Linked DNA regions of Homo sapiens: regions 1, 2 and 4 are each linked to region 3. The links are contacts of gene promoters, found by promoter capture Hi-C in blood cells and fetal thymus (Javierre and others, 2016). All regions are on one chromosome and are shown on one strand. The core of a region is centred on a gene start or on the middle of the fragment in contact, and the rest is flanking DNA. Distances in the headings are between cores, read along the strand shown. Region 1 holds the start of EPG5 (ectopic P-granules 5 autophagy tethering factor). Region 2 holds the start of HAUS1 (HAUS augmin like complex subunit 1). Region 3 holds the start of PIK3C3 (phosphatidylinositol 3-kinase catalytic subunit type 3). Region 4 holds the start of ARK2N (arkadia (RNF111) N-terminal like PKA signaling regulator 2N).

Region 1 (6,704 bases), core at 4,016-6,515, 4.0 Mb before region 3:
TGACTATTATGATTAATACAGTATCTTTTAAATGAAATATTTCTGATAGTCATCTTGGCCCCAGTGTATAAGTATTAAATATTGCAAACATGGAGACAGTAAACCTGGCTTCCTCTTCAAAGTCTGTTTATATTGTATAACTGCCTTCGTTCAAATCCCAGCTCCACCACTTACATAAGCTGTGTGACCTTAGGCAAATAATTCAATCTCTCTGAGTCTTAATTCTCTTTTTATAAAATGAAAGCAATGAAATCCTCAACATCGCGGGGTTGTTGGAAGAATCAAATGAGTTAACACATGAAAAGTACTCAGAACAGGGCCCAGCAGAGAGTAAGAGCTCAGGAAATGTTGGTGATAATTATTACAGCCCAGAGTAGCAAACCCTTCTCTGATTATTATGCCAGTGATGAACACTGCTTGCTGTCAAGATGAATTTCTTAGAATCTCTGCAAATAGTACTTATGCATAGAGAAGACATTTGTTGTTATTTTGCTAGCTGAAATTAGTATTTTAAATTATTTAAAAATTAATCTTAATTTATTAAACCCATACACATTCTAAAATTTAGTTTTTGTTAAGTCTTTTTTTTTTTTTGAGACAGAGTCTCACAGGCTGGAGTGCAGTGGCGCAATCTCGGCTCACTGCAACCTCCGCCTCCCGGATTCAAGCGATTCTCCTGCCTCAGCGTCCTGAGTAGCTGGGATTACAGGTGCACGCCACCACACTGGGCTAATTTTTGTATTTTTAGTAGAGACGGGATTTTACCATGTTGGCCAGGATGGTCTCCATCTCCTGACCTCGTGATACACCTACCTCGACCTCCCAAAGTGTTGAGATTATGGGCGTAAGCCCCCATGCTCGACCTTTTTTTTTTTTTTTTTTTTTTGAGACAGGGTCTTGCTCTGTTGCCCAGGCTGGAGTGCAGTGGTGCAATCTCAGCTCACTGCAACCTCCGCTTCCCAGGTTCAAGTGGTTCTTGTGTCCCAGCCTCCTGAGTAGCTGGGATTACAGGCAGGTACTTGTAATTACAAGTAGTACGGGATTACATGCCCGGCTAATTTCTGTATTTTTAGTAGGGACAGGGTTTTACCATGTTGGGCAGACTGGTCTCGAACTCCTGTCCTCAGGTGAGCCACCCACGTCGGCCTCCCAAAGTGCTGGGATTATAGGCGTGAGCCACCATGCCCGGCCCAGTTTTTGTTAAGTCTTCAAGTTATCTTTATACATACCTCAACATTATTTTTATAAATCTAATAGAGTTTCATAGTCATGTTCAAGGGGGAACCTTAACAATTCATCCACTCACATTCAACAGACCAAAGTCCCTTAAACAATTGGTCCCATCATCACTTAAATTCCTTCAAATGTTTTATACTACAGTATTAAATTCAAAATATTAATTTTTTTAATGTTGCCTGAACTGACCAACCAACCATTCTAACTACTTAAACCATCCTACTAAGGTCTAACAAATTTTTTTTTTTTTTTTTTTTTTTGAGACGGAGTCTCACTCTGTTGCCAGGCTGGAGTGCAGTGGCATGATCTCGGCTCACTGCAGCCTCCGCCTCCTAGATTCAAGCGATTCTCCCGCCTCAGCCTCCCGGGTAGCTGTGACTACAGGTGTGCACCCAGCCAATTTTTGTATTTTTAGTAGAGACGGGGTTTCACCATGTTGGCCAGGATGGTCTCGATCTCTTGACCTCGTGATCTGCCCGCCTTGGCTTCCCAAAGTGTTGGGATTACAGGCATGAGCCACTGCACCCAGCCACAAATTCAGTTTATAAATATGATAGATCTTAATTTCTCAGAGATATTCCATGATTATGTAAGCCGTATAAAATTATCTTATTTTTAACTAAAATATATGTAATCTAAAATCAGGTAGTAAAATACATATTTTAATTTGGAATCATAAGGTCTATATCCTTTAATTTGCCAAATTATCGTAACCAGTACAAGCACTTTAAATACAAAAAGATACAGTTTATTCCTAATTTAACACAAAAGGATTATGCTGTCAGCTTAAATTACTTTATCTGCTTTGTATTTGACTTTCCTGAGATGATACTTTACTTCCAGGAATTGGTTTACTTTTTTTTTTTTTTTGAGATGGAGTCTCGCTCTGTTGCCCAGGCTGGAGTGCAGTGGCGCCATCTTGGTTCACTGCAACCTCCGCCTCCTGGGTTCAAGCGATTCTCCTGCCTCAGCCTCCCAAGTAGCTGGAATTCCAGGTGTATGCCATGACGCTACGCTAATTTTGGTATTTTTTTAAGTAGAGATGGGGTTTCACCATGTTGGCCAGGCTGGTCTCCTGACCTCAAGTGATCTGCGCTGCTCTGCCTCCCAAAGTGCTGGGATAACAGGTGTGAACCACCACTGCCGGCCTGTTTACTTTTTCAAGCTACTGTCTCACAGGTTGGGTTTAGCAGCCCTGGGAACTCAGGTTGCTTATCAGTCAGTTGTCTGGCTGGGACATGAAATCCTTGACTGCATATGTTCGGGAACTTTTCTGAGCCCCTGCTCCCATTGTCCCTTTTAAAATTGTTGCTGTGGCAACAGAGACTTCAAGTCTATATCCTTCAAAAGGAGTAGTTTCAAAACCACCTTCTCGGTTCAAATTATATCATTACCTAACTGATTGTTGCTTTACCTTTTGTTTGGATTCTACTGAACTTGAATTGTCTGGCTGTTGGCCTCACTTTCTGAAATTAATCCAACGACAGATAACTTCGTGATGGAAAATGTAGGTCTCCTTAGTAGTTAGCCCTCTGCCAGGTGACTTCGTTTCCACCTCCCCTTATATATTGTTCTTCCTTCCTCTCTAAATTCTCTAAATCTCTGCTTATACAGAGCAATCTGGCTCTCTCTGGCCTCTCCAGTCATCATACATCATACTCACATTCACCATCTTGAGAAGTGCAGTAAGCCACATAAATGCAGCAGAAGTACCTTATGCAGTCCTAGGAGGCTGTGGTTTTGAGTTGCTTTTTTTTTTTTTTTGGAGACGGAGCCTTGCTCTGTCACCCAGGCTGGAGTGCAGTGGCACGATCTTGGCTCACTGCAGCCTCCACCTCCTGGGTTCAAGCAATTCTCCTGCCTTGGCCTCCCAAGTAGCTGGGACAAGTAGCTGGGACTACAGGCGCACGCTGCCAGGCCTGGCTAATTTTTTGTATTTTAGTAGAGATGGGGTTTTACTGTGTTGCCCAGGCTGGTCTCGAACTCCTGAACTCAGGCAATCCGCCTGCCTCGGTCTCCCAAAATGCTAGGATTATAGGTGTGAACCACTGTGCCAGGCTGAGGTGCTTTTTAAAGAACCTTCATTTCTTTCCTCCTTCTCCTCTTTCTCCCATCCTCCCTGATTAACCTCTTTTTTGTGTGGAACTCACCCCTGCCCTGGTGTCATCCCTTCATTCAGTCTTTCCAATGTATGCCTCTTTTACCAGTTAGGCGATGATACACGTATCACAATGTATCTATGCATTGTGTCTGCTTCCCAACTAAACTGTAAAACATGCAAATTGAGAGTAGGGTCAGTTGTGTTTTGCTGACCAAGTAGTGGGTAGCACATAGAGAACTTTAAATGTCATAAATGACTTAAACTGGGAGAGGTCAGAGAGCAAGGGTATTCCAGACTGGGAGAAATATCAGCAAAAGTTATGGATAGTAATGGTGGTATAAAGATTTTGTTTATATTGGCCAACTCTTTGCAGGTGATAACTTTATATACATGCACACACACACACACACACACACACACACACACACACCAGGACATACAAAGTACATGTATATTCTGAGTAGCTTAATAATTTTTGTTGTTGAGGATTTGGGAACAAAATACACGAAATTGTATTATATACTCAATTAAAATATCATCACAAACAAGCAAACTGCATCTCTGAAGTCTTTTCCATTTTTCATGCCATATTGCTGGATTTTTTATTCTAGGGTATGCTACAGGTGGGTGGATGGTCTTTTTCCTCCCTCCCATACACTCCATTTCCTTTTCTTCTTTTTCTTTTCTTTTCTTTTTTTTGAGATGGGAGTTTCGCTCTTGTTGCCCAGGCTGGAGGGCAATGGTGCGATCTCGGCTCACTGCAACCTCCGCCTCCCAGGTTCAATTCTCCTGCCTCAGCCTCCCGAGTAGCTGGAATTACAGGCGTCCACCACCATGCCCGGCGACTTTTTTGTATTTTTAGTAGAGTTGGGGTTTCACCATGTTGCCCAGGCTGGTCTTGAACTCCTGACCTCAGGTGATCCACCCGCCTCGGCCTCCCAGAGTGCTGGGATTACAGGCGTGAGCCACTGCGCCTGGCCCACTCCATTTCAACGATCTTACCCCACCGCCAGACAAAACTCATACTCATTTGTGTGATTCACGAAATATTTATTTAGTATCTACTATGTGCTACTACGTGCAGTGTTCTAAAGACCCTTGGATACATCAGGCAACAAAATTAAGAACCCTGCCTTTGAGGATCTTACATTCTGGGAGGATTGACAGACACTAACAATAAGGATACAAGCAAATCACAGAAATCCTAGAGCTGGGAAGGGAAGATGTGGACAAGTTTTTCACATCTGGAAATTTCAAATGAAGCACACTGTAAAATGTATACTAAGAATACTTTTACGGATCTTATTTATCTTGTTACCTGTTTGCCTGTCCTTTTAGGAGCACATGTCTTTTTTCCAGTCTGGGAATTTGTACAGTAATGATAATTAATAACTACCATGTACCGACATGCCTGCCGCTACCAGGCACCTTTCTGGGAGAGCCCATTAAATTCTCATGACATCCGAAAAGGCAGGTGTGATCATTCCCCTTTACAAAAGAGGACGCCGAAGTGCACACCCCGATGGGCGTCAGGGTTTCTTCCTTGCGCGCAGTGCGGATTTAGGCTAACCGACTGGATCTGGTTTATCTGAAGATGAAAAAAAAGAATGGCAAACCCACTTTCCGGATTTCTTCAAGCCGACGCGGGTGAGGTGTGCGAGCGCGCCCGGGATCCGCACTGAGTGAGGTTCCGCAGAGCCGGGAGACGGAGGAGGTGGGTCAGCCTGGGTCGCTGCCCTTGTCCAGCGCAACCCAAGACACCTGCGCGCCGGGTGGAGCCAGGGCTAGGGGTGGGGCCTGGGCTCCGGGAAGGGGGCGGGCCTGCCTTCCTCCAGTGCAAATGCGTCCTGGAGTGGTTTGTCCTACGTTGCGGCCCGTAGAGGCGCCGACTCACCGCCTCTTCTCCGGGAGTGGCGGAGATTCGATCATGTGACAGTCCGGAGGCCAGAACCGGGCAGGTTGCTTGAAGCGCAGGGGTTTGACAAAAACAAACGGTGACGGCGCCGCGGAAGGGTCTATGGCCGAGGCGGTGAAGCCCCAGCGCCGGGCCAAGGCCAAGGCCAGCCGGACTAAAACAAAGGTGAGGATCTCCCCCACCCTCCCGAGGCTCTGGCAGTGTGCTGTGTCTCCTTGCTCCTCTCTTCGGCCTCCCCAGCCAATTCTACTCCCGTTCCCTGAGCCCTCTGCATCTTCCGCCTCCACCTTCCAATATTTGATCCCACCACCCGTTGACACCGGCCCTTCTCCTCCATTCCTTCTCCATATCCCCCTGCCACACTCTGTCAGGACCCCATTTTTCCTTCTCCCTCCTGTGACTTCACTGGCCTCTTCCTTTTCTGCTCTCTTGGCTTTCCTCACCTGGGTCTGGTTTCCTGCCGTGAAATAATTTTTCTCTTTCCAGCCCCATCGTTGACTCTCTCTTTACTCTTTTATATCCTAGAACATTTTTAGTCCCTGCCATGCATAAAGAGGGAATGTTCCCCTCCTCCACGCGGAGAAGGTACCTTTGGCAGAACTTTATAAGTAGACTAGTGCTGTGCCATTTCTGATCACTTTGAAAGTTCAAGATGATAGTAGTGCTGCCTCTGTTTATTTCTTATTGTCTTGATTGTTTATAAGGGGCATGAATGGCTAGAAATTAACCCAGGGCGGGACTCACACAGTAGGGAAGTGTTTGAATTTTCTGAGTTTCCTGTATTAGACTACATGTGGTATTAGAGTGATTTTAAGTTGATTTGTTTATAAGTGCAGTCTGGATTTTCATTTTATTATAGTACATATATACACATATATACATATGTACACATATATACATATATACGTACATATATACATATGTGTGTGTGTATATATATGTATATGTATTTTTTTTTTTTTTTTTGAGACAGAGTCTTGCTCTGTCGCCCAGGCCGGAGTGCAGTGGCGCGATCTCGGCTCACTGCAAGCTCCGCCTCCCAGGTTCACGCCATTCTCCTGCCTCAGCCTCCCTCCCGAGTAGCTGGGACTACAGGCGCCTGCCACCACGCCCGGCTAATTTTTTGTATTTTTAGTAGAGACGGGGTTTCACCGTGTTAGCCAGGATGGTCTCGATCTCCTGACCTCGTGATCCGCCCGCCTCGGCCTCCCAAAGTGCTGAGATTACAGGCGTGAGCCACCGCGCCCAGCCTATGTTTTGTTTTGTTTTTGTTTTTGTTTTGATATGGAGTCTCGCTCTGTCGTCCAGGCTGGAGTGCAATCTCGGCGGAGTGCAATCTCGGCTCACCGCAACCTCCGCCTCCCGGGTTCAAGCGACTCTCCTGCCTCAGCCTCCCGAGTAACTGGGATTACAGGCATGCGCCACCACACACGGCTAATTTTGTATTTTTAG
Region 2 (6,500 bases), core at 1,942-4,441, 4.1 Mb before region 3:
CTTTCACTGTATAAAAGAAGGAAAAACTTAGAAAAGAGAAGTAATGATGCATAGAGCTATCAGATCTCAATGGTGGCAATGCTCTTCTAGATACCTAGACATAAAAATTGTGTTAAAATTTTGCATACATTAGTTAGAACATTTGTTATTTAATATGTATCACCCTGAAAGGTATTTAAGGACAGACATAAATAATTTTACTTTGAAATCCTTAGATTTTTGGTTACAGTATATGATAGACAAAAAAGAAAGCTCTTATAAAATGAGATTTTTCTGGGCTCCAAGTCCCTTTCTCTGCACTGTATTTTAATAATTACAAAAATAAAATCATTTAAAAATAAGACAATTTTAAAAGCACATATATGGGAGAATATGGCTATAAAGGAGTGGCACAGGGGAGGTTTTTGGGGTGATGGAACTGTTCTGCATCTTGATTGTGTGATTTCAGATTGTGAGAGTGGTTCTACACTCTAAGTGTATTAAAATGGTACACAAAAATAAAAAGTCAATTTTACTGTATGTTAATTTTTAATTAATTAATTAATTAATTTTTTTTTGTTGTTGAGAGAGTCTCACTCTGTTGCCCAGGCTGGAGTGCAGTGGTGTGATATCTGCTCACTTCAGCCTCCACCTCCCGGGTTCAAGAATTTCTCCCGCCTCAGCCTCCCAAGTAGCTGGGATTACAGGCACATACCACCACACCTGGCTAATTTTTGTATTTTTAGTAGAGACGGGGTTTTACCATCTTGGCCAGGCTTGTCTCAAACTCCTGGTCTCAAGTGATCCGCCCACCTTGGCCTCCCAAAGTGCTGGGATTACAGGCGTGAGCCACTGCACCTGGCCCTGCTGTATATTAACTTTTAAAAGAAAACTGGAAAAAAGCACATATGCAATAGAATCAAATATAAACTGCACTATATTCAAAATATCATATGTAACAAATACCATACATCTGATTAAATATAGGGCAAATGCAGGCCTCACTTCCTCTCTTTGGTGTATTCTCGTATCTAAAAAGATTTTTGTCAATCTTTACTTTTGTGGTTTGTATTATCAAAACAATAGGCATCTTGAATGCACTTTTTCTTTTTTTCTTTTTTTTTTTTTGAGACGGAGTCTTGCTCTGTCGCCCAGGCTGGAGTGCAGTGGTGCGATCTCGGCTCACTGCAAGCTCCGCCTCCTGGGATCACGCCATTCTCCGGCCTCAGCCTTCCGAGCAGCTGGAACTACAGGCGCCCGCCACCACGCCCGGCTAATTTTTGTATTTTTAGTAGAGACGGTGTTTCACCGTGTTAGCCAGGATGGTCTTGATCTCCTGACCTTGTGATCCGCCCGCCTCGGCCTCCCAAAGTGCTGGGATTACAGGCGTAAGCCACCGTGCCCGGCCTTGAATGCACTTTTTCAAACTATATATGCCCAGCAGAAAATTCTAATGCAATCTCCTGATACGTAGTCATAGAGTAATTTCGTCCAAGTCTCACATTTCATGGCCACCACCTCAGGTGTCCTGATAGGTCCGTATGACTAAATCATGGAGACCGGAAACAGAAAAAACAGATAGGTAAGTAAAAAACCACAAGGCATCTTGTGTGTCAGACTAACAAGTTTAGACTCTTTTAAGGCTTACTGTTTTGCTATCAGAGTACCAATAAGATATTTAGTATAATAACATTTATTACTTAGAGAATTACTACTGGCCAGGCAGGGTGGCTCATGCCTCTAATCCTACCACTTTGGGAGGCTGAGGCAGGCGGATCACCTGAAGTCAGGAGTTCGAGACCAGCCTGGCCAATATTGTGAAACCCTGTCTTTACTAAAACACAAAAATTAGCCGGGTGTGGTGGTGCAGGCCTGTAGTCCCAGCTACTTGGGAGGCTGAGGCATGAGAATCACTTGAACCCAGGAGATGGAGGTTGCAGTGAGCTGAGATCACACCACTGCACTCCAGCCTGGGCGACAGAGCAAGATTGTCTAAAATATATACACACACACACACACACACACACACACACACACACACACACATACATATACATATATATAAACATAAAACAATAAAGTTACTACTATAACAGAGTGGAAGAAAATCTGGGAAAAATAAAGGAGCAAAACAAGTAGTCTACAGTAAATTAATCCTGTATACTTTAGTGTTATAAAATTTGGTTACCTCTATTTATTCTCGTTCAAAACTCTGGACTTAATCTCACCTTCTGACTCGTATTCACTTGCTTTCTGCTTCAAGTCCTCTATTACCAGGTAGACATCCCTGTCCCGGACCCTGTTGCGTTCTGAAAGGTGATGTAAAATCTCTGTGGTCCGTGGGTTCACCTCATACTGTGGAATAGGATGATCTCCAAATATTTTTTTTAACCACGCAGCAACCTAACCATTAAAAGAAAGACAAATATTATAAGCCTTGTTTACTGTAATGGCTCGATGAGAATATGACAAAGAAGTGATCAAAAGCAAACTAAATGCTTTCTGTGACTATTTTGGAGTCCTACTTCACAACCTCACTTGTCTTTAGGGAGATACTAGATATCAGGAAATAAAAAGTGAGCAAGTACACAAAGAAACGTACAATACTGAAAATTACCAGAGAACAATCCGTTCTTTTCCAAATCTGCAAAAGCGGTACAGGCTAACAATTTGCCTCGCTTGAAAAACCTTAAAGCTTAATAGACCATAATAATGCGAACGCATTATTAGACCGTGCATGGTCTGAAAAAAGCAATTGTCCCTCGATCACCAGAAGCCCCGCCGCGCCGGGAGGCTCCCAGTGTTGGGATGCAGGGCGCGGAAGCAGTTCAGATGTGGAAGCCGCCGGGCTGAGCAGCGAACCGGAAGGCGGGTTTGGCTTCATAAGTCCCACTCCAGAGTCTGTGGACACGGGCTGCTCAACGCCTCTCCCGGGCCAGATCCAAACAAGGGGAGGCCCGGGCAGGAAGGGAAAGGCCTTCAGGAGAGTCTAAGCACGGGGGGCTTGCAGATAGTGACGGCGGCACTAAAAGACGGATGTGTGGAATAGGGGAGAGAAAAGTAGACGTGGCGCGCACAGGAGACCCGCTGTCGGCGCGGGGGTGTCAAAAACGCGTTTTCCAGGAGGCCAACGATCCCCATTCCCGCCCCATCACCTGCGTTTCTCTCTCCTCCTGCGGCTCCATAGCTGCGGCTCCCGCCACTTTACTAGGAACTCCTAGCGGGAGATGCGCCCCGCTCACTCCCTAGGCCCCGCCCACACGCCGTTGGCACCCGCCCCTCGCCGGGCCCGGGATTTCTGGGAGTTGTGGTTTTACCTGAGACTCCTGGCCGTTGAGCCCCTGTGCAAGGCTGGTCGAAGGCTCTGGCATTGCAAGCCTCGCTTCGTTGCCACTTCCCAGCTCTTCCCGCCTTCCGCGGTATAATCAACACTACGAGAGATAGAGCCGCCTAGAACCAGGTTGTTTTTTCTTTCTTTTATTTTTATTTCTTGTTTGAATCACTTGTCGTTAAAAAAAAGTACTTGAAACGTTTGGTTCTTGCTTAGCAAGATGTTTGTGTTTCTTCCACATTGATTGCATCCACTCAGAATTTATATTCTACCCTGGCAATATGAGCTGAGGCAATCTTAACTTGATCCGTTAGTTCCCCCAACCTAAAAACTAGGGACATTTTTTTTTTTTGAGACAGAGTCTCGCTTTGTCGCCCAGGCTGGAGTGCAGTGGCATGATCTCGGCTCACTGCAACCTCTGCCTCCTGGGTTCAAGCGATTCTTCTGTCTCAGCCTCCCAAGTAGCTGGGACTACGGGCAAGCGCCACCACGCCTGGCTAATTTTTGTGTTTTTAGTAGAGACGGGGTTTCACCATATTGGCCAGGCTGGTCTCGAACTCCTAACCTCATGATCCGCCCACCTCGGCCTCCCAAAGTGCTGGGATTACAGGCGTGAGCCAGCGCGCCCAGCTTTTTTTTTTTTTTTTTTTTTTTTGAGATGGAGTCTCTGTTGTTCAGGCTGGAGGGCAGTGGCACGATCTCGGCTCTCGGCTCTCAGCTCACTGCCACCTCTGCTTCCCGGGTTCAAGCGATTCTCCTGCCTCAGCCTTCCGAGTAGCTGGGATTACAGGTGTGCATCACCACGCCCAGCTAATTTTTTGTATCTTAGTAAAGATGGGATCTCATCAGGTTGGCCAGCTTGGTCTCGAACTCCTGACTTCAGGTGATCCGCCCGCCTTGGCCTCCCAAAGTGCTGGGATTACAGGCACTGCGCCCGACCTTTTCTTTTCTTTTTGAGATGGAGTGTTTCTCTGTCGCTTAGGCTGGAGTGCAGAGTGACATGATCTTGGCTCACTGCGACCTCCAACCCCCGTCCCCAGGCTCAAGCAATTCTCCTGTCTCATCCTCTCTAGTAGCTGGGATTACAGGCTTGTGCTAGCATGCAGGGATAATTTTTTTATTTTTAGTAGAACGGGGGGTTTCACCACGTTGATCAGGCTGGTCTCAAACTCCTGACCTCAAGTGATCTGCCTGCCTCGGCCTCTCAAAGAGCTAGGATTACAGGTGTGAGCCAACACACCCAGCCTAAAATGATTTTCTTTTCAAAGGAAACTTACTAGCAAGCCAAGCTTATTTATTATTTATTTTATTTTATTTTTAGAGACAGGGTCTTGCTCTTTCGTCCAAGCTGGAGTATAGTGGTGATCACAGTTCACTGCAACCTTGAACTCCTGGGCTCAAGCAATCCTCCCGCTTCAGCCTCCTTAGTAGCTGGGACTATAGGCGTGCACCACCACACCCAGCTAACTTTTTGTATTTTTTGTAGAAAGAGGGTCTCACTATGTTGCCCAGGCTGTTTTTGAACTCCTGGCCCCAAGTGATGCTCCCACTTGGGCCTCTCAAAGTGCTGGGATTACAAGCATGAGGCACCACACCCAGCCTGTCTTGCTTATTCTTTTTGCTTCAAACATATCTCTGCTCTGGCTGGATGCGGTGCCTCACACCTATATTCTCAGCACTTTGGGAGGCCGAGGCAGGTGGATCACCTGAGGTCCGGAGTTCAAGACCAGCCTGACCAACATGGCAAAACCCCATCTCTACTAAAAATACAAAAATTAGCCAGGCATGGTGGCACGTGCCTGTAATCCCAGCCACTTGGGAGGCTGAGGCAAGAGAATCACTTGAACCCTGGAGGCAGAGTTTGCAGTGAGCTGAGATTGAGACACTGCACTCCAGCCTGGGCGACAGAGTGAGAATCCACCACAAAAAACAAAAAAAAACAAAAACTAAATATATCTCTGCTCTGTAACCAAATTTCAGATAAACTGGTGCAGCCCTTCAGTATGGGGCAAAAAAAGTTATCTTTATGTCTTTTGTCCACTTTTATCACTACAAATTTTACAAAATATCCCTGCAATTTTTTTTTTTTTTTGAGAGGGAGTCTTGTGCTGTTGCCTAGGCTGGAGTGCAGTTGAGCAATCTCGGCTTACTGCAAGCTCCGCCTCCCGGGTTCACGCCATTCTCCTGCCTCAGCCTCCCGAGTAGCTGGGACTACAGGTGCCCGCCACCACACCCGGCTAATTTTTTGTACTTTTAGTAGAGACAGGGTTTCACCATGTTAGCCAGGATGGTCTCGATCTCCTGACCTCGTGATCCGCCCACCTCAGCCTCCCAACGTGCTGGGATTACAGGCATGAGCCACCATGCCCGGCCTTTTTTTTTTTTTCAGACAGAATCTCACTGTGTTGCCCAAGCTGGAGTGCAGTGGTCACTGCAACCTCCATCTCCCAGGTTTAAGTGATTCTCGTGCCTCAGCCTCCTAAATAGCTGGGATTACAGGCATGTGCCACCATGCCCAGCTAAAGATGGGGCAGGGGGTGCAGGGATCTCGATATGTTGGCCAGACTCATCTTGAACTCCTGACTTCAAGTGATCAACCTGCTTCAGCCTCCCAAAGTGCTGGGATTACAGGTGTGAGCCACCATGCCGGCTAATTTTGTTGTTATTGTTGTTGTTGTTTTGAGATAGTCTCACTCCTGTCGCGCATACTGAAGTGCAGAGGCGCAATCTTGGCTCACTGCAACCTCCACCTGGCTCACTGCAACCTTCACCTCCTGGATTCAAGCGATTCTCCTTCCTCAGCCTCCTGAGTAGCTGGGGTTACAGGTGTGCACCACCACCCCCAGCTAATTTTTGATTTTTTAGTAGAGACGGGGTTTTGCCATGTTGGCCAGGCTGGTCTTGAACTCCTGACCTCAGGCGATCTGCCTGCCTTGGCCTCCCAATGTGCTAGGATTACATGCGTGAGCCACCATGCCCGGCCTTGTTGTTTTTAGAAACGATATTTTTTCCTGTTAGCTTGTGAAAGTTGATTGGGTCATTCTTGTCATCCCCAACTAAAACAGTGTCAAGAGGTAAAGGGAAAAAAAAGCACTCAGGGCACATAACATTGCTCCAAAAATGTAATTATCTGTAAGCCTGGCTGCTGAAACTGCCCGCTATAACCTAAACCAGTTTTTTTGTTTGTTTG
Region 3 (6,537 bases), core at 1,873-4,372:
TACATAGTCTATCAAATAAGAAGTGTCAAGAAGTCAGATTAAGGATCCACAATACTCTTCTGAAAAAAACAGGAACTTCATGTTCATTATATTTACCCTGCATCTTGACAAGGTCTTGCTAATGTGCCATGCTGAATAAACTATGAATCTAAATAAATTAGTTTCATATGTAAAATAATAATAAAAATTTTATCTGAACCGATGGCAATAGATCTATCTCTAAAAATCTGAGCTCCAAACATCAGGTTGGACAATATTTCAGACTATCCAGAAGTATTTATGCATTCAAGAGCACAGGATGGTAAAGAATTTTAAAATGCCACAGACGTGTTTTTGTTTTTGGTCATGTAAATCAGTCAAGTGCTTATCAAAATGTCAATATGCTAACTACAAACATAAATCCATTTCTATTTCAATTGCAGTTATAATACTGACATGCATAATACTTTATCTGAGTATGTTTCTACTTCAAATGATTTGATCAATGCCTATAGGTATTAAGAAATTCCTCTATAATCCTACTAAATTATACTTGCAGCATCCATAAAGAAAGGTAAGAACAGTCTGTAACATACCATATGCCACAAAAAAACTTACTTCCATCTTGTACTAAATGCTTTGTAGGATGTTCTCACTGGCAAGGCCAAAGGCTTCCCTTCTGCAAAAACTTGACAAGTAACATAAAGATCAGAGCATGTCTCTTGATATAGTCCTGAGAACTTCAACATTGGGTCTTCCAGGACAGCTTTATAACTCTTTTGTTCTCTCTTCCCTTCCAAGCTTCCTCTGAAAGCACAAGACCAACAATGTTTCAGACATGAATTTTTTAAGCATGTACATATATACATAAGTACTAAGCATGTACATATATGCTTTAAGCATGTACATATATGCATAAGTACTAAAAAGTTTACCTTTGTGTTAAGGTATGCTACCTAAACAACATTTTCCTGTATATGAAATTAATGTCATTTTTATATATGATAAGGGTTTCTTAAAATCCTAACATACCTAATATCAGTCCCATCTTCATCAACACATTTCTCTATTTTATACTTCTGAATTTTAAACGCTGCCATTGACCCTTGATCTACCCTCTGGAAGTCACCAGCTTTCTAGGCCTTGGTTTCATTTTCTTCATTTCAAGTTGACCACATATTCATCTATTCTTTCAGGAAACATTTACCATAGTGGACAAAGAAGCCCAGAAGAAAGAAAAGATAAGCAATACAGTATTACAATAAAATATTAAGTCATTGCTTCTGGGGAAAAAAATTTACTTTTAACTGCATGTTTTTATTCTACTCTTTCCATTTTTTTCTTTTACTATGCATATGCATTGTCTGATCATTTCTTTAAAACAGTGGTATAAGTCATAAATAGATATGCACAGGATACTATCACAGAGGGAGGAACATTTTTTAGACATCAAGATTACATCAGATACTGTGCCAGGCATTTTATATTTTCTTTCTTACATAATTTTCACCATATTCTCATTTTATAAATGAGGAAACAGAGACTTATAAACTAAACTCCTTATCCACAGTCACAACGTAAGTAACAGAGCTGAGAATAAACACTAGGGCAGGGAGGCCAAAGCCAATATTCTTCCCATTACAGTAAGATAAATCAGAGTCTCAAGAGTACTTAGGCTGGCATGGGGAAGGGACTTAGTACCCCAGATAGATGTCTGAAATGATCCTGAACAATGCATGAGAGTTGAAGCAAAAGAAGCAGAACGTCATCCCAAAGGGAAAGGAGACAGAGTGAGACCCTGTCTCCAAAAAAAAAAAAAAAAAAAAAAGGGACCGGTTTTTTTGGCTTTTTCTTTATTTTTAATGTTCAAACATTTCAAAAAATGCATTCATATATCCAAGAAATACTGAGCATCAAGCTGAAGGAAAGCCCTTTATCAATATTGATCCTGTATAAACTACTAGTGGTGTATGCTATGGAAAATACCTTAAATGAGTGTATAAAGTATCATACAAAGGTACAAGGTGGTTGTTGACATATTACTTTTACCACCACCACCACAAACTAAAAAGTAAAGTATTTGTCAGCGAATAAGGGACTTCTGAAAATAAAATGAAATGATCATTCAAAGGTACATCAGACAACTGAGAAAATTTATCTATCACTTACTGCAGGCCTTTGACCGACACATATTTGTTGAATATTAATTGAACATACACAAGAAATGTTTATTAATTATGGATGATGCTATGGTCAATAATTTGTGATAGCTTTGACAACACTCCTACATGACCACCTTAAAAGGGACATAATTTCCAACTCTGTCTTGTGCATCCCTCGTCATTATACCAGTTCTATTATCCTCATCTCAAGATATCACGCCCTTGACCTTTACTTCAGCCGTGGTGCCCCAACGTTTTCCTGCAAAGACTCTTTTCTCCTATCTTCTTGGTACCTTTGAAACTGGAACCCTCATCTTCGACTTACTCCCAACTTCCCTGACTAAACACTGCCATACTACCCAAAGATTCACTCTAGGCCTCTATCACCTCCCGTGCTAATACACCATGTGCTCATCTTATTCTCAACTATCGCATCTGCCTGTGTCTACCTCTCCATAATTTCTGAAGCCTTCATTCCACCCTACAAGCCCCGTTCCAAAATAAAGATCGTCCTCTTACTTACGACGAGACTTGATTTCTTAATTTACAATGAAATAGTAATAAACTCTCAAAAGGCTGAACAGCAAAAACTTTAAAGACTGTAAAATACAGCGGAACTTAAGGGCTATTCCTACTGCTGTGCTTCTCACGGAGACCACGTATTAAATCCTTTTCCAAAAGAGCCCCTCTCCACGATCCACTCTCTCGCGCCTCCCTGGCTACAGCCCTCACAGCCGCCCCCAATCTGGGCCTTGAGACGAGTCACGTACTTTCTGCCTCTCACTCCCAACAGGCCCCTGCCCCCACGTCCCTACGCCCCAGCAATCCCACTCCCTGTCCCGAGTGTTCTCTTACATCTTAAGCTGGACGTTGATATCCAGGTCACAACTATAGATGTAGTGAAACTTCTCTGCTTCCCCCATCGCACCGTCTGCAAAGGTACCACCTACAGCGGGAACTTAGGTACAGGAAAAACAACATAAATGAACCAGCTGAGCCCCACAACACGGAACTTCCGGTTCCGCCCCCGCCAGCAAGCCGCCAATCCACGCCCGGAGCGAGTTCCGACGCGGCGGAACTCCCCGCCGAAACAACCCTTCCGCGCATGTGCACAAGGCGCCCACCATCTTGCTTAAGGGCAAATGTATACGGGAAACGGCTAATCTGGTTACATTCCAGTTTTCCTGTCTTGACAGCACTTTTTTTTTTTTTTAAAGAAAAAGAGACGCTATCATTTGAGCTTGAGCTGTACCTAAAACAATACGAAAGAAAATTCAATTCAAAAAGAATTATAACAGCTTTCACTGGCTGCCGGCTAAACAGGTTACAAGCACAAAAATTGGAATTTTGCCAGGTTTAAATTCCAGTGGCCTTCCCAAAAAGTGTAGCACTAATTTGCTATCTCAAGCAAGGATTTTCTCTTTCTGCTCTAAAGAGTAGGGAAAGGACTAAATAGAGAATAAATAAATCTGGGTTTCATGTTTGGTGTTGTCAGTATTCATGCTACTTTGGACATAATACTTGCGTGCATGTTTAAACTGGGAATATTCAAATTCAATGTAGTTTCAAGCCCTAACCCAAGTTAGAATCTAGAGGCCTCCTGTAATAACTACAGAACACAGATCTCTAAACCCTCTGAGCTCCTATAATGTTTGTTTTTATAATTATTATAATCTAAAATTGTAATACTCCCTTCCAATTAGATTGAAAACTCTTGGAAGGTAAGACCAGTGTGCCATTTACTTCCGTGTCTTGCCCCGCTAGCTGTCTAATGCATTGCTGAGTTTAATACTTCCTACTTACTGGTTATTAATGATGATATTGAATGAAAGTCTCCATTTTCTATGCCTTTATTTCTTTTTTTTTTTTTTTTTTGAGATGGAGTTTTGCTATTGTCGCCCAGGCTGGCACCATCTCGGCTCACTGCAACCTCCATCTCCTGGGTTCAAGCGATTCTCCTGCATCAGCCTCCCAAGTAGCTGGGATTACAGGCACCCGCCACCCAGTCAGGCTAATTTTTGTATTTTTAATAGAGATGGGGTTTCACCATGTTGGCCAGTCGGGTCTCAAACTCCTAACCTCCAGTGATCTGCCTGCCCTGGCCTCCCAAACTGCTATGTCATTTCTTTTTTTTTTTTTTTTTTTTTTTTTGAGACAGAGTCGCTCTGTTGCCCAGGCTGGAGTGCCCGTCTCTCTGTTGCCCAGGCTGGAGTGCAGTGGCGCGATCTCGGCTCACTGCAAGCTTCACCTCCCAGGTTCATGCCATTCTCCTGCCTCAGCCCCCCAAGTAGCTGGGACTTCAGGTGCCCGCCGTCACGCGCGGCTAATTTTTTGTATTTTTTAGTAGAGTCAGGGTTTCACCGTGTTAGCCAGGATGGTCTCGATTTCCTGACCTCGTGATCCGCCCTCCTCGGCCTCCCAAAGTGCTGGGATTACAGGCGTGAGCCACCTCGCCCAGCCTATGTCTTTATTTCTAAGTGCTGCATTTTAAGACGGACATCACTAAAGTATGTGCAAAATGGCGTAATTAGAATGTTGAGGGATTAGAAAAAAAATATTTCCAAGAAAGGGTGAAAGGTGTGGAGCTGTTTAACCTGGAAAAGGAAAAAAAATGGCTAATGCAGAATGTTTTACACAAAATAAGTTCTCAAAAATATTTATGGAGGCAAGAAAAGGATTTGGGTAGAATAAAGAAAAACATGATAGTTATCCTCCTATAACTTAAAGTTTAAACAAAAAGAGCACCTTTGATTTGTTCCTAAGAATAACTGCCACCAATGGTTGGAACTTACAGGAAATGTAATTTCAACAAACAATACAAATTGAACTTTCTAATTATCACAGCCATTCAACAGTAACACTGTTGTCACAAGTACTCTGTTTAAGGCATAACTCCAGCAATGAGTGTGAGGTTTGATGTGAAACCTCAATCTTGAATAAAATATTGACAATGTGTAAAGGAGTAAATTATCTGATCCCAGTGGTGAATAAATTACTTTCATTATGTAATGGTATTTAATGTATAAACCTAAGATAATATTATATACATATACAACCAAACAAATTTACAAATTAAATATAAAAACTTCAAATTAACAATCTTAATATAATAGTGGGATTTTTTACGGAAACTGTTGTTTGCAAAATGATTATGGAATATAGTGTTGGCTACTCTTACAGGACTGATTCTTTGAAATTCAGCACGTCTATACTGCTATATTCCACAGGGCAATTCATTTTTCTAGACTCTTTTTCTCTATTCAAATAACTATGAACTCTTCATGAGTGTAACCACCATGATGTATTCTGGCTTTATCTTGCCTACAACACATCTTTTTGTTTTAAGCCTGACTTTGTCCTTTTCTCATTAGCTCATAACAATTAAAGTAATACTGATTGTTTCCAAAACAGTTGCAAACACAACACAGATAAAAGCATGAAAATCAAATGTCAGTACTTAGTTATAAGATATTCATTCACAGAACCCAAAATAGATTTAACTTTTTAAAGATTATCAAGAGAAAAAAATAACATTAAAAATGTATTATAGAGGGATCTCAGAAAACTTGACTGTAGTTGTATTAAATATGTTAATACATCAAGGAAAACTAATGTGCCAATAAGGAGCAAGATTTTGGTAAGTCATGGAAGCATGGAAAGAATTATTATAGAAACCAAAACTCTCAGTGCCTTTTGTACTGTAAGTCAGGGAAGTGTTGGTTGGTAGACTTGAGTATCAGAATTCAATTAACAAGGCCATCTCTATAAGAGAAAAGGAAGCCTTAAGCATCTTATTTTGAAAGGAGAGGAATGATTTTTTCCTTCCCATGTGATTTTCATGAATCATGAATATAACATACGCTCATAATTATGGGATACAATTTGCATTGCAAGAGTCCACGGTGGCCTGTCTGCAGAAAAATAACTTACAGAAATAGGTGTTTTCTTGGTGTGGTAGGCTCTTCCAATGATTATTATATGATCCCATATTTAATTTTCCCTTGGAGTTGCAGTTTTGGCTTTGTGCTTCTTTTGCCACCTTGTTTCAATTTCTATTTTAATTATTCTAGTAACCAGTTTTAATGATGGCTTAGAAATGTGTTGATTGTGCCCCATTTCTTCCTTCCTTCCTTTCTTTCCTTCCCTTCCTTCCTTCCTTCCCCCTTCCCTTCCCTTCCCTTCCCTTCCCCTCCCTTCCCTTCCTTTCCTTTTTCCTGAATCGAAGTTTTGCTCTGTTGCCCAGGCTGGAGTGCAGTGGTGCAATCACAGCTTACTGCAGCCTCAACCTCCTGGGCTCCAGCAATCCTCCCACCTTAGCCTCCTGAACAGCTGGGATTACAGGCACGCACCACCATGCCTGGCTACTTTTTAAATTTTTTTTGTAGAGATAGGGGCT
Region 4 (6,970 bases), core at 4,421-6,920, 4.2 Mb before region 3:
CGGTGAGCGGAGATGGCGCCATTGCACTCCAGCCTGGGCAACAAGAGCGAAACTCCGTCTCAAAAAAAAAAAAAAAAAGATAACTTTAAAAAAGCAAGATTACTTTTTAGTTTCACCCTGCTCCTGCTCCTTACTTTTACAAGGCCCTGTAGGCTGAGTGTGAAAACTGACTGACTGAACATCAATCCCACTTCTGCTGAGAGAAGCTGCCCACACAGAAGTAAAAAACACTGCTTCTTTAAGTGGAATCATAAGAGTTCTGAAAAAGTAAGGAAAAGAGGTACAGGTAAAGGCTAAAAGGATTCAGAAGAGTATCATGACAACAGTCAAACTCAAAACCAAGACTGGAAATTGACAACTAAAGAAAAATAACTATCAGATTTATTTAATCTGATGACCAAGAAATCAAAATAAATAAACCAAACTAAAATAAATAAAACCAATAAAATTTATATTCACTGGGCTGGGCTCAGTGGCTCACCTCTGTAATCCTAGCACTTTGGGAGGCCAAGGTGGGCGATCACTTGAGGTCAGGAGTTCAAGACCAGCCTGGCCAACAGGGTGAAACTTCGTCTCTACCAAAAATATAAAAAATTAGCTGGGTGTGGTGGCACGCGCCTGTAATCCCAGCTACTCGGGAGGCTGAGGCAGGAGAATCACTTGAACCCAGGAGGCAGAGGTTGCTGTGAGCAGATATCCTGACACTGCAGTTCAGCCTGGGTGAAAGGGCAAAACTCCATCTCAAAAAAAATTTGTATTCACTCAACTTAAGGATAATAAAGAAAAATATTTTTGTTGTTTTTTTTTTTTGAGAAAGAGTCTCAGGCAGTGGCATGATCACCACTCACTGCAGCCACAAACCCCTGGGCTCAACTGCTCCTCCCATTTCAGCCTCCTGAGTAGCTGGGACTACAGGCGTGTGCCACCACACCCAGATAATCTTTTAATTTTTCTGTAGAGACGGTTCTGCCATGTTGCCCAGGCTGGTCTCCTGGGCTCAAGCAATCCACCGGCCTCAGCCTCCCAACGTGCTGGGATTACAGGCATGAGCCACTGCACGTAGCCCCAGAAAAATCTTTAAAAAGTTATGTCAGGGCCAGGCATGGTGGCTCCCGCCTATAATCCCAACACTTTGGGAGGCCGAGGTGGTGCATCACCCGAGGTCAGGAGTTCGAGACCAGCCTGGCCAACATGGTGAAACCCTGTCTCTACCAAATACAAAAATTAGCCTGGCATGACGGCACATGCCTGCAATCCCAACTACTCGGGAGGCTGAGGCAGGAGAATCACTTGAACCCAGAAGGTGGAGATTGCAGTGAGCGGAGATTGTGCCATTGCACTCCAGCCTGGGCATCGCAGTGAGACTCTGTCTCAAAAAAAATAAATAAATAAAAATAAAAGGAATGCCTATCTCATTCTTCACATTCTACCTGGAATTCTTTCCTCCAAAAAGAAGAAAATTCCCAACCCATTAGCGGACTAATAAGGTACCTTTGCAACTTGGCCCTATCTCCATCTGCCCTATCCATTCCTTTTGAAAACTCAAGGCACTGGCCCCACTTAACCATTCAAGTGCACTGATAATCATGACTTTGGTTAGGCTGCCCTAGCCTGGCATGCTCACCTGGAAATCCAACTCGAACCTCAGGTTTAAATGTCTAAGCTCCTTAAGCACCAGGTGGCCTTGTTGGTCTTATTCACCACTATAGTTCCTGCAACTAGAGCACTGCTGGCACACAGTAAACACTCAATAAATTGTTGTTGTGAGAATAAAGACTCTCCATATGAATTATTATTTTTTGAAACAAGGTCTCACTTTGTTGCCCAGGCTGGAGTGCAGCGGCACAGTCACAGCTCACTGTAGCCTCAACCTCCTGAGCGATCCTTCCACCTCAGCCCCACAAGCAGCAGGGACTAAAGATGCATACCACCCCACCCAGCTAAGTTTTTAAATTTTTTATAGAAATGGGCTCTCAAGGCCGGGCACGGTGGCTCACACCTGTAATCCCAGCACTTTGGGAGGCCGAGGCAGGTGATCACTTGAGGTCAGGAATTCGAGACCAACCTGGCCAACATGGTGAAACCACATCTCTACTAAAAATAAAAAATTAGTCAGGCGTGGTGGCAGGCGCCTGTCTTAGCTACTTGGGAGGCTGACATGGAAGAATCATTTGAACCCGGAAGGCAGAGTTTGCAGTGAGCCAAGACCGCGCCACTGTACTCCAGCCTGGGCAACAGAGTAAGACTCCATCAAAAAAAAAAAAAAAAAAAAGTAAAGAAAAAAAGAAAGAACAAACGAACAAAAGAAGAAAAAGAAAGGGGCTCTCACTATGTTGCCCAGGCTGATCTCAAACTCCTGAGTTCAACTGATCCTCCCGTCTCAGCCTCCCAAAATGCTGGGATTAGAGGTGTGAGCCACTGTGCCCAGCCCCTTACAAATATTTTATCCACTCTATTTTCTATCCCCCTTCTATATAGCTCTCCCCTTTTATAGTCTCACAACTTTTTATTCATAGTATCATATGTACTTCATTTTGCCTAGAGAATTACAGTAACCCAAGAAACTTTATTTGGTCCCAAACTCTTTCCTAAAATAACAGAAGATAATGAAATCACTATTCCTTAAAGGAACACATTAAAAATCCAACATTTAGGCCGGGTGCAGTTGCTCACAACTCTAATCCCAACACTTTGGGAGGCCAAGGCAGGAGGACTGCCTGAGCCCAAGAGTTCAAGACAAGTCTGGGCAACATAGGGAGACTCCATCTCTACAAAAAATTTAAAAATTAGCCAGCCGTGGTGGCTCACACCTGTAATCCCAGCACTCTGGGAGCCGAGGCAGGCAGATTGCCTGAGGTCAGGAGTTCGAGACCAGCCTGACCAACACAGAGAAAACCCGTCTCTACTAAAAATACAAAATTAGCCAGGCGTGGTGGCACATGCCTGTAATCCCAGCTAATTGGTAGGCTGAGGCAAGAGAATCGCTTGAACCCAGGAGGTGGAGGTTGCGGTGAGTGGAGATTGCACTCCAGCCTGGGCAACAAGAGCAAAACTCCATCTCAAAAAAAAAAAAAATTAAAAATTAGCTGAGTGTGGTGGCGTGAGCCTGTGGTCTCAGCTACTTCGGAGGCTGAGGTGGGAGGAATGCTTGAGCTCGGGAGGTTGAGGCTGCAGTGAGCTGTGATCATGCCACTGCACTCCAGCCTGGGTGACAGAGCAAGAGTGTCTTTAAAAAAAAAAAAAAAAGCACACACACACACATTTTTCACCTTTACAGGTTTTTCTCAAGTACTGTCTATTCAGTAAACATGAATACATGCTATTTCCATATCCTCAGTTATGTGCAGGAAAATGAGGAAGATCTAAGATGATTTACCAAAGGTTTGGGTCTCTAGTGTACATGAATTCCAAACTTTAGAAAGAAGAATACTGAAATTGCCTATTTATCAAGTCTGTTCATGCACGTGTCAAAAAAAGCTGTAAGATTGGGAATCCCAACAAAACAACTTCTTGTATAATGAGTAACTACAGAAGCGCACAGAATTTACTAGTCACACAATAAAGAGACTGAAAGTACCAATATCACTATTAATATTAGAAGCAAGAAACCTTTGAAGGACACGCATTAGCCCTCAGTTCTAATGGAACTGCATTAAATTAGAACCTAAAGCTGAATTTATCTTTACTATATGGGTTTTGAATTAATCATAACCATAAAACAAAGAGTATTATGACAGTTACTCTCACATAAATGCATGTTAAATATAAAGTGAATAAGTAACAACTACACGGTGAACTTATTCTAACAATGGAGAAAGTTTCCAGCTCCAATATCCAGTCCATCCTATTTTCCACAAAAAGTTGTCAGAAAAAATTTTTTTTCCCATTAAGAAATCTGATTCAGTCCAGGCGCCACGGCTCACGCCTGTAATCCCAGCACTTTGGGAAGCCAAGGCGGGCAGATCACGAGGTCAGGAGGTCAAGACCAGCTTGGCCAACGTGGTAAAACCCCGTCTCTACTAAAAATACAAAAATTAGCTGGGCGTGGTGGCGCGTGCCCGTAATCCCAGCTACTCGGGAGGCTGAGGCAGGATAACTGCTTGAACCATGTGTTTTTTTTTTTTTTGTCCTGAGACTCCTCAGGACATCAGGCAGTAACTATCAATTGTAGGCCTCTAAAAATGCTTGTTAAACCAAAAGGCAATGCTCTGATTACTGGAGGAATCTAGATTGCCAAGATCAGCAAAACTACATTAGAAAGTTAATAGCTTCCATCCTTAAAATATCCCAAGAGAAGAAAGGGAGTGATTCTGTTAGCATGTACCCAATACTACACAATAAAAGCCTAAGCAAAATTGGCAGATGTTTTTGTAATTAAGAGGTCCAACCTTGACGAAGTATCATCAGTAGGATTTTAATTCTACTGGGTAAGAGGATTCAGAAAGCAAAAGGTCAGGCAAAAAACGAAAAACCCATCCAAACAGAAACTGCTCAAGGATCTGGTAGGGCTCGTACCGATGTTCTCTACTTCAACCTGTGAGCATCAATTTTGTGATGGGGGCTGCCGGGGACGGGGGTCGGGGCGGGGGGGTGGACAATTTTAAAGTGAGAATGAATGGCTTGCGTAAAGGCGATAGTCTTTAACACGGGTTCGTCAGTGTACATCCTCGCCGGTTTTGAAATAAAGTTGACAAACTCCCCAGAAGCGGTCTATTTTGGAGACTGACACATCTCTCGCATTGACTGGAGGCGCCTGCCGACCGAAGGTAGTGGAAGCGCCGAGAGGCAGGCGGCGCCAAGCCTATAAGAAAGCCTTTTCTCCCTCCACCAAGGCCACTGCGGCCGCGGCGCCGGAGCTCTCCGCTGCAGGGGCAGGTGTCGGCGCCAGACCCCCTACTCTCGGAGCTGGCGGAGTTGCCGCCACTGCTTCCCCCGCGGGCCTAGGAGCCGGAAAGTTGCGTGAAGACAACTCCAGGGCCGTGAAGTCGCTTCCCCCCGCAGCCCGGGGACTGCGGCACCTCCAGCCTCCCCTCAGCACCCCCGGAAAAGGACTCGCCTCAACCCGGCCCCAGCGTCTGGGGGCTTGGAGTGCCGGAGCCAACTCCGCCGGGCCGGGAGGACGCTAGGGTCACCAACGGCGGACGAGCAAGGAGGTCGGAGAGGTGCGATGCCCCAGCGTCAGCCGGCAATCCAGGCTGCGAGTTCCCGGCGCCCACCAGCCAGGCCCGCTAGGACCCCAGCGTCCGGACGCCGCAGAGCCCTCACCGCGGCCCGCAGCCCTCCGATTCGCCCCGACCCCTCCCTGGGACGCAACCCGGGCCCCCCAACTCGACCAGTAGCCAGGCCGCGGCCCTGCGCCCCTTCCCGCCTCACCTGCGCTCCGCGGCGACTCCGTGCCTTCTCGCTCGCTTCGCGCGCGCCCCGTCGGGGCACGCACCGAACCCCCGGCCGGGACTCTTCCCCGCTGCGGTGACTCAGGACGCGACGGCCACCGCCGCCTTCTCCTCCTCGGAACAAGCCCCGGCAGCGAGCAGTGGGTCGCGGTCAGAGCCCCTGCCGGGACCAAAGTGAACCTCGCCGCCTCCGCAGCCTCTACCACCAAGTCCCTTCAGTCGTCCGCGCCGCCCCCAAGAAAATGTCACCAGAGGCCGTTCCGCTGGGCGCCTCACTTCCGCCCGGAAACACAGAGCCCGCGTCGGCCGGCTAGAGAGGCAGCTGCGCCGGAGACCTCTGGAGACTGGCGCCCGAGGCCCGAGAAAAGCCAGACAGCGCCATCTGGCGCGATGGAACCCGCGCTCCTCCCGCTGCAGACCGCGGGGCGTGAAGGCGCCGGCTCCCCGGGCTTCTTTCCCGCGCTCCCTCCTTCTGTTGAGACCGTCACCTTCCCGAAATGTCTTTCCCGGGGGGTGGGAAAGCCACTCAATGCAAGCCAAGGACAATGCCTTCAGCAAAGGACAGCGCTCCCTTTTCTGTGCGCTGCTCAGTACTCACCCCCTCCTGAAGCCCTTCCGAAAGCAGCTTGCGGTGTCTGAATCCCAGAGTCGCTCCAGCGGAGAGCCCGTGCCCTTCTCTCCCCGCTTTTTCGCGGATGCCGATAGCTGGGCTCGGGGAGACTCGGCTGAGCTCTTCTCGGGCAGCGGCACCAATATCTGCTCAAGTTTCTGTCCGGGCACCTTGCAGGCCTTGCAGATCGACCGCCACCTGCTGGTGGGACGTGGCCCGCTGGGGAGACCCCGCTCTGCCCCGAATTCCGCCTCTGCAGTCGCCCTCCGATTTGCAGTCAGCCCTGGGGAGGGTGGGGGAAACGAGGTGGACCCGAACCCCGAAGAAGGGGAGGAGGGCGCAGGCCCACTGGCGGGTGGAGCGTTTCCCAAGGAGGAGCAGGAGATGCTGAAGACATATCTCAAGACTCAAGATCTGGCCAAGGACCCGCGCTCCCCCAAAGCAAAGCAGTGTTTTGAGAAGAAAAATAATAATAATAAAGCTTTGAGGAGGAAAATGTAAACGGTCTTTACCTTTACAGAGCTGTGCTGGAACCTCGGATGAGACCCGTCAAGAGGAGATTCTGAAAATCTCACACCACTGGGTCCGCACTCCCCTAAATATCAGTCTCCCCCTTCAGACCAGGCCCCTTAGTTCCCCCACTTCACTCATTTTTTCTGACTGCCTACAGGAGTGCGAGTTTTTCATCCCCAACTACAAGAATAAATTAAGAAAAGAAAATAATTTTATTATACCAGGCACCTTGCATTTAAATGGGTTAAATCCACTGAATCCTCATTACAACTCATAACAACCCTATGAGTTGGATGGCGTTACTAGTCCCAAATTGCAAAGGTGGAAACTGAGGGACAGAGTGACCTGCCCAAGATGACACATCCAAGTAAGTGGCAGTGTTGGATTCCAACACAGGCAGAGCTTACTTTCTTAACCACAGCCACCAACTGCCTCACTGAGAATCACAGAGAAC

The links. The method cuts DNA at HindIII sites, captures the fragments that hold promoters and counts their contacts. A CHiCAGO score of 5 or more calls a contact.
Region 1: a contact is called between the fragment with the promoter of EPG5 here and the fragment with the promoter of PIK3C3 in region 3, in 1 of 17 cell types (total B cells). The highest score is 6.3, in total B cells.
Region 2: a contact is called between the fragment with the promoter of HAUS1 here and the fragment with the promoter of PIK3C3 in region 3, in 1 of 17 cell types (total B cells). The highest score is 5.4, in total B cells.
Region 4: a contact is called between the fragment with the promoter of ARK2N here and the fragment with the promoter of PIK3C3 in region 3, in 1 of 17 cell types (total B cells). The highest score is 5.5, in total B cells.

Annotation. Positions count from the first base shown.
Region 1 is chr18:45,965,890-45,972,593 of GRCh38, reverse strand. EPG5 (ectopic P-granules 5 autophagy tethering factor) reads left to right here and starts at 5,265. Exons shown (of 44, transcript NM_020964.3): 1 at 5,265-5,417. The coding sequence starts at 5,355. RefSeq lists an enhancer at 5,005-5,506. The HindIII fragment of the contact is 12,390 bases long and covers 1-6,704 here.
Region 2 is chr18:46,101,076-46,107,575 of GRCh38, reverse strand. HAUS1 (HAUS augmin like complex subunit 1) reads right to left here and starts at 3,191. Exons shown (of 9, transcript NM_138443.4): 1 at 3,135-3,191; 2 at 2,208-2,382. The coding sequence starts at 3,164. It also overlaps a transcript of ATP5F1A not described here. RefSeq lists an enhancer at 2,787-2,876 and a silencer at 3,267-3,366. The HindIII fragment of the contact is 1,925 bases long and covers 2,677-4,601 here.
Region 3 is chr18:41,951,819-41,958,355 of GRCh38, reverse strand. It overlaps PIK3C3 (phosphatidylinositol 3-kinase catalytic subunit type 3), which reads right to left and starts at 3,122. Exons shown (of 25, transcript NM_002647.4): 1 at 2,997-3,122; 2 at 598-786. The coding sequence starts at 3,064. RefSeq lists an enhancer at 3,165-3,344. The HindIII fragment of the contact is 3,603 bases long and covers 783-4,385 here.
Region 4 is chr18:46,172,734-46,179,703 of GRCh38, reverse strand. ARK2N (arkadia (RNF111) N-terminal like PKA signaling regulator 2N) reads right to left here and starts at 5,670. Exons shown (of 5, transcript NM_145055.5): 1 at 5,374-5,670. RefSeq lists enhancers at 4,657-4,786, 5,387-5,436, 5,467-5,726, 6,047-6,096. The HindIII fragment of the contact is 7,725 bases long and covers 1-6,486 here.